Linked DNA regions of Homo sapiens: region 2 is linked to region 1. Evidence: promoter capture Hi-C in 16 types of primary human blood cells and fetal thymus (Javierre and others, 2016). All regions are on one chromosome and are shown on one strand. Each heading gives the region's core, a stretch centred on a gene start or on the middle of the fragment in contact. The rest is flanking DNA. Distances are from core to core; before and after follow the strand shown.

Region 1 (3,195 bases), core at 1-2,500:
CGAAAAGACCCGGCTGGATGCGCTCGGGGATCTTGCTCACGTTGAAGAAGGCGGCCACCACCAGCCAGAAGTAGCGGCGGTAGAAGTGCACGAAGAGTGTGGGGTTCTCCCCACGCAGGTCGAAGAGCCAGCTCTCGAGCATAATGGGGCAGGCCATGCTGAGCGGCATGACGAAGACGAAGGTGCGCAGCGCGAACGGGTAGGTACACCAGTCGGTACGGCTCTTGCAGCAGGCCACAGTGCAAGCCACCGCCAGCACGAAGGCCACAGGCAGCACCAGGGCGCGGTAGGCGGCGATAAGGCGCGTGCAGTCCACGTGCCAGCCCAGGCGCTGCTGCAAGTATGGAGTCATGACTCTGGCATCCAGCAAGCTGAGGCCTGGCAACAGGTAGTAGTAGTAGGCCACCGTGCTGCCGAAGCCGTAGTAGCTGATGGACGCGTAGTCCAGGTAGAAGAAGGCGGCGCGCAGACGCAGCGACAGGCAGCTGAACACGTGCGCCGTGCAGCTCATGGCGAAGGTCAGCAGCACTCCCGACGCGTAGCACCACAACGGTAGCAGCCACGGGTGGTGGAAGGGCACGTCGCCGCCGCTCAGGAAGAACAGACGGCAGAACTTGCTCAGGAACAGCAGCAGCGGGATGAAGTGCGTCCAGAAGTTGAGCGTCTCGTTGGTAGGCTTCAGCACCGAGGCTAGGCACTCCTGGGCCGTGCACGGCAGACGCCGGTAGCCCGACAGGATGAAGCACTCCACGAAGTCGTCGGGCACCTCGTCCCAGCGCAGCAGCGGCTTGGCAGACGCTGGGGGGTCCCGGGAGGCGGCAGAGTGGGAGTTCCGGGCGGCCCCCGAAGCTGCCGGGGCCGGGGCCGGAGGGCCTTTTGTGCCCGCGCCCCGGGGCTGCAGGCGCCGCGGCATGGTGCCCGGGGCTCGGCTAGGGCGCGCGCAGGCGACCTCTGGCGCCGGCTCCCGGGCGCTGGGCAGCCCCCGCCGGCCGCCGTCGGAGCCTTTGTGCCCACGCCGGGGGCGTCGCTGCAGGTTTAGGAGAAGACCCGTGCCTCCGAGCAGCCGCTCCTAAAAATTAAATAAATCAATAAGAGAATCAATTAATAGGCAGCGCTGCGACCGCCAGGAGCGCGGAGCGCGCGAGGCTCAGCGGCTTCCTCGCCAAGCCCCTGCTACCGGCGCGCGGCCGCCCGCGCTGCGGCAGCGGCGGCGGCGCGGCTGACTGCGGCGGCAGCGCGGCAGCGGTGACTGGGCATCGCGCGGTGCGGGTGCCTCCGCCGCCGCCGCCCCCGGAGCGGGAGGTGGGGATGTGCGAGCCGAGGCGCGGAGGGAGGGACGGGCGCACCGAGGAAGGGCGGGGGCCTCCCAGGCTAGGGTTTCGCGGCCGCTTCGGGGGATAGAGTTGTCCCCTGTCTCGAGTTCCGTACCATCCCCCTCCTCGGGCCGCCGCAGCCCGGGCCGCCCCGTTAATGATTGATGCGGGGGCCGCAGGCTGGTCGGCGACGCGGCGGCGCGCGCGCCGAGTACTAGAGTCGGCCCTGGGGTTCGAAACCCGACAGCCACGCGGGCGTTCTGGAGGACACTGGGGAGCCGCGTTCGCGGGGGGCGGGGAGCTGCGGCTGCGGGGGGAGGGGAGGGCGCCGGAGCCGGGCAGGGCGGAGAGATGCGCCAGCGGTAATCTCCGGAGGTCGCCGGGGAGGGGGGCACTCCGGAAGTCGGGGGGCTTTAAGCCCGCGTCCGGATCGGGGCCGTGTCATTGTCAGCTACCTGGGGATGCGCCTCTCGCTCCCTCACTGTCTTTGCGTGTGTGTTAGTGTGTGTGTGTGTGTGTGTGTGTGTGTGTCGGCCTGTCTACGCACTACACGAAGGCTTAGTTGGTCTTCTTTCGTCTAGTGGGCGCACTCAGGTGCGTCACCATTCTGCCGTTTCCCTCGCCCTTGTCCTGTCCGAAAGAACCGTCCGCAAGCTGCCCTGTGGTCGCGCTCACCAGCTCTTCGAGCCGCAGCTAACCCATCTTCTTGTTTTTGTGTCTTTAACTAGGACTTCTATTTGGAACTGAGTCCGACAGCTCAGGACTGGCTGCTCAAACTCCACAATTTAATGAAAAATCTCAGATGATGACTCAGAAAACCTCTAATGATCTGAGGAATATATTAAGGGATTCCAGAGTCAAAGGCTGATCATGGAGGGCATTGATGAGGGAAGACTTCAGGTAGGAGGTGCATTCTAGCAGGAACTGAAGAGAATGAAGTCCAGTTGGTAGAAACGGAGGGGGTGGCTTGGATAAATCTTATATGTAATTAATCAGAAGTACCTGGCAGGTGGCTGGAGACCAGAAGAAAGGAACACTGGAAGAATGAAAACGGTTGTGATGCACTGCAGTGTGAAAATATGCCCTTGAGCCTTAAAGAAAGGGGCTTAAGGCCGGGCGCGGTGGCTCACGCCTGTACTCCCAGCACACAGATCACGAGGTCAAGAGATTTGAGACCATCCTGGCCAACACGGTGAAACCCCGTCTCTACTAAAAATACAAAAAATTATGTGGGAGTGGTGGCGCACGCCTGTAGTCCCAGCTACTCGGGAGGCTGAGGCAGGAGAATCGCTGGAACCCAGGAGGCGGAGGAGGTTACAGTGAGCCGAGATCGCGCCACTGTACTCCAGCCTGGCGACAGAGCGAGACTCCGTCTCAAAAAAAAAAAAAAAAAGAAAAAGAAAAGAAAGGCTACTTTCATCGCTACTGCACATCCTCTAAGTAGGTTAAGGAAGATTTACTTAGTAGAGCCTCAAGATGGATTTAAGTTATGGATAAGAATTATTTATAACTAGGATATCATTCAGTATTATAAGTGTCTGCAGTTACTTAAGGATGCTAGAAACAGTCTAGAAGTTTCAGTCTTCTCTCTGAAGTATACTTTCAAGTAGTAACTGATTTAGCAAGCTCTTACACAATTAGATCAAACGTGCGCTTCAGTCTTCTGCCTTTCTGCACTGCCACACATTCCTGTCTAGTGGATTTTTTTTTTTAGGCGTGGATTTTTAAGAAGTGAGATTTTGTTGTAGTTATTTAGCCAGTGTCTTATTTTAGTGTTTTCTGGTTTTCCACTGTTTGTAGCTTGTTTTAAATTGAAATCTAATTTCCTTTTATATCTGGACTGAGGACCCATGGCTATTTGTAAAATGGATTAAATTTAGGT
Region 2 (3,212 bases), core at 484-2,983, 330 kb before region 1:
GCATGTACCACCATGTCCAGTTATTTTTTTTCAGACTTTTTTTTTTTTTTAATAGAGACAGAGTCTCCCTGTGTTGCCCAGGCTGGTCTTGAACTCCTGGCCTCAAGCAATCCACCTGCCTTGGCCTCCCAAAGTGCTGCAATTACAGGTATGAGCCACCATGCTGGGCCAATCATATTTTAATTTTTAGAAAAAAATGAGGATTTGGAGTTGTTAGAATTGAGAAACTAAAAAGAACCATGTACAGAAAGAATTGTTTTGTAAACCTCTATACTGAGTCATCTAATTTCAATGTCTACATAAAAGAAGCTCAGAGCTCTTTCTTGAATATCATGTAGAAAGATGATACCTTGGTTCCCTTGAGAACCTGATTCATGACATCATTGCTTTTGGCCATTCAGGAGTCAGTTCGGTTTTTTGAAAGGAACATGGAACTGGGACTCGGGCACACTGAAAATACTACCAGCTTTGACACTTACTAGTGGATGATCTAGGCTGTTTAGCTTGATCTCTCTGAATCTGTTTCCTTATATGTGGAAATGGGAATAAAGATGGGTCCCAGAATATAGTGTGTGTGTGTGCGCGCACATGTGCATGCAGTGTGCATGTGTGCGCGCACATGTGCATGCAGTGTGCATGTGTGCATGCATATGTGTATGTGTATAAATTTATGTAGTGTAATAATATTATTTTTATTCTCATTTTACATATTAGGAAACAGCTAATAATTCTATAATATGTAATATTCAGTCCTGTTCCTTAGCTCACTGGGCTGATGTGAAAGTCAGATGTGATAATACATCTGAAAGTGCTTTATAAATTAGAAAACACTTAAATGTGAAATGTAATTTACCTTGATAATGGCACCTGTTACTTATAATATCATGGTGGTCTTCCTTAGTCTTTGGTTTTAGGCCACCATGAAGAATCACTTTCAAACTTATTTCTTTCTTTCACAACATTTGTCATTGTTATTAGCTGAGAATGAAATCTCTAGTGAATTTGTCCTGAGACATTCATACTACCTTATGACTTAATGAAAAAACCCATCACTTTGAAACAGACAAACAAAAAACACTGGGTCAGCCAATTAATGCTATTTTAAGTAATGAAGTTAACTGAAGTAAAATATTCTAAGGTTTCAAAAGCTGTATAGAGTCAGATTAACTCTGTAAGCAGAATGACGAAATTCTCTTATGGCAGGTCCAGAGGGGAAGCTTCCTGGACCCAGCCTTAGATTGAATAGTGATCATGTGGACTTGTTCCTCACACTTGTTTCAAGTTTGTTTCAATATGACTGTAGTTGTTTTGATACTAATATGTGCCTACTAGCTGAGTGCTACTGGGCAAGTTAGTTAACCTTAGTGAGCTTGATTTTATAAGTAAAAATAGAGATAACAACTGCTACTTTTGGTGGCTGTTTTAAGGATTGGAAATAATTTTTTTTTTTTTTTGAGACATAGTCTCACTCTGTCACCCAGGCTGGAGTGCAATGGCGCGATCTTGGCTTACTGCAACTTCTGCCTCCTAGGTTCAAGCAAGTCTTCTGCCTCAGCCTCCTAAGCCTGAGTAGCTGGGATTACAGGTGCACACCACCATGCCCGGCTAATTTTTGTATTTTTAGTAGAGACGGGGTTTCACCATGTTGGCCAGGCTGGTCTCGAACTCCTGACCTCATGATCCACCCGCCTCGGCCTCCCAAAGTGCTGGGTTTACAGGCGTGAGCCACTGTGCCTGGCCGGATTAGAAATAATTTATATAAAGTTCCTGGCACATATTCATCAGAATTCTGATTAGCACACATGGGTATGAGGAAACTAACTGGAGACCTGGGAAAGAACTGTCGGGAAGGATTAGAAGGAATAGTGCTTAGCACTCACACAGACCAGGAACAGTGCCAGTTCTTACCAGCCACACGGTAAAAAACCATGTAGTAATGTACAGCTTATTGGGTACTCAGAGGCCTCTTGCCTCAATAATGGGGAATAATTAGCCCACAGACAGTGTGGTTTCTCAACCTCAGCACTATAGGAATGTTAGACTTGATAATTCTTTGTTTTAAGGGGATCTCCTGTGTATTATATGATGTTTAGCAACGTCCCTGGCCTCAACACACTAGATGCCAGTGATGCCTCCTTTTGTGAAAGTAAAAAATGTCTCCAGACATTGCCAGATGTCCTCTGGGGATCATAGTCATCTCCTGTTGAGAATCAGAGCCCTAAACTCACTTCTGTGCTGGTCCTGCCTAATGAAGCTTAAAAGCAAGACCTAAGGGTCAAACTCTTTCCAAGTAATTTAACTGCATCCAAGAATAAAGATCAAGAATGGTTATAGGGTTTCCCCCCACCTACAGAAACAGAAAAAAAAATTTAAAATTTTGGCCTGGCAAGGTGGCTCACACCTGTAATCCCAGCACTTTGGGAGGCCGAGGCAGGTAGATCACTTGAGGCCAGGATTTTGAGACCATCCTGGTCTCATGGTGAAACCCCATCTCTACTAAAAAGACAAAAACTATCGGGGCGTGGTGGCAGGTGCCTGTAATACCAGCTGCTCAGGGGGCTGAGGCGGGAGGATTGCTTGAGCCCAGGAGGTGGAGGTTGTAGTAAGCTGAGATTGCACCAGTGCACTCCAGCCTGGGCAACACAGTGAGACCCTGCCTCAAAAAAAAAAAAAAAAAAAACAAACAAAACACTCTGAAATATAAAATCCTGGCTGGGTGCAGTGGCTCATGCCTGTAATCCCAGCACTTTGGGAGGCCGAGGTGGGCAGATCATGATGTCAGGAGTTCGAGACCAGCCTGGCCAACATGGTGAAACTCCATCTCTACTAAAATTACAAAAATTAGCCGGTCATGGTGGTGAGTGTCTGTAATCCCAGCTACTCAGGAGGCTGAGGTGGGAGAATTGCTTGAAACCAGAAGGTGGAGGTTGCAGTGAGCCAAGATCATGCCACTGCTCTCCAGTCTGGGCAACAACAGCAAAACTCTGTCTCAAAAAAGAAAAAAAAGAAAATCTCAAGCAACCTTGAATATCCAAAGCAATCTTGAAAAAAATAGAGAGTGTACAGTTCCTGCTTTCAAAATATACTACAAAGCAGCAGTCTGATATCAAGATGGTATAGTACTGGCATAAAGACATATATATAGACCAATGGAACAGAATAGAGAGCATGTAAATAAACACACACACACACACACACACACACACACACAC

The links. Contacts are between HindIII fragments. The CHiCAGO score rates a contact against its expected background, and 5 or more counts as called.
Region 2: a fragment that was not itself captured here is called in contact with the fragment with the promoter of PAQR9 in region 1 in 1 of 17 cell types (endothelial precursors); the score reaches 5.1 in endothelial precursors.

The regions. Positions count from the first base shown.
Region 1 is chr3:142,962,424-142,965,618 of GRCh38, forward strand. It overlaps PAQR9 (progestin and adipoQ receptor family member 9), which reads right to left and starts at 1,251. Exons shown (of 1, transcript NM_198504.4): 1 at 1-1,251. The coding sequence starts at 913. It overlaps PAQR9-AS1 (PAQR9 antisense RNA 1), which reads left to right and starts at 1,635. Exons shown (of 5, transcript NR_125393.1): 1 at 1,635-1,675; 2 at 2,042-2,213. RefSeq lists a silencer at 280-465. The HindIII fragment of the contact is 6,414 bases long and covers 1-3,195 here.
Region 2 is chr3:142,627,761-142,630,972 of GRCh38, forward strand. All of the region lies in intron 1 of PLS1 (plastin 1), which reads left to right. The region is part of intron 2 of PLS1-AS1 (PLS1 antisense RNA 1); the gene reads right to left. Among named protein-coding and RNA genes, the nearest start is that of PLS1-AS1, 27 kb to the right of the region's middle. The HindIII fragment of the contact is 1,037 bases long and covers 1,216-2,252 here.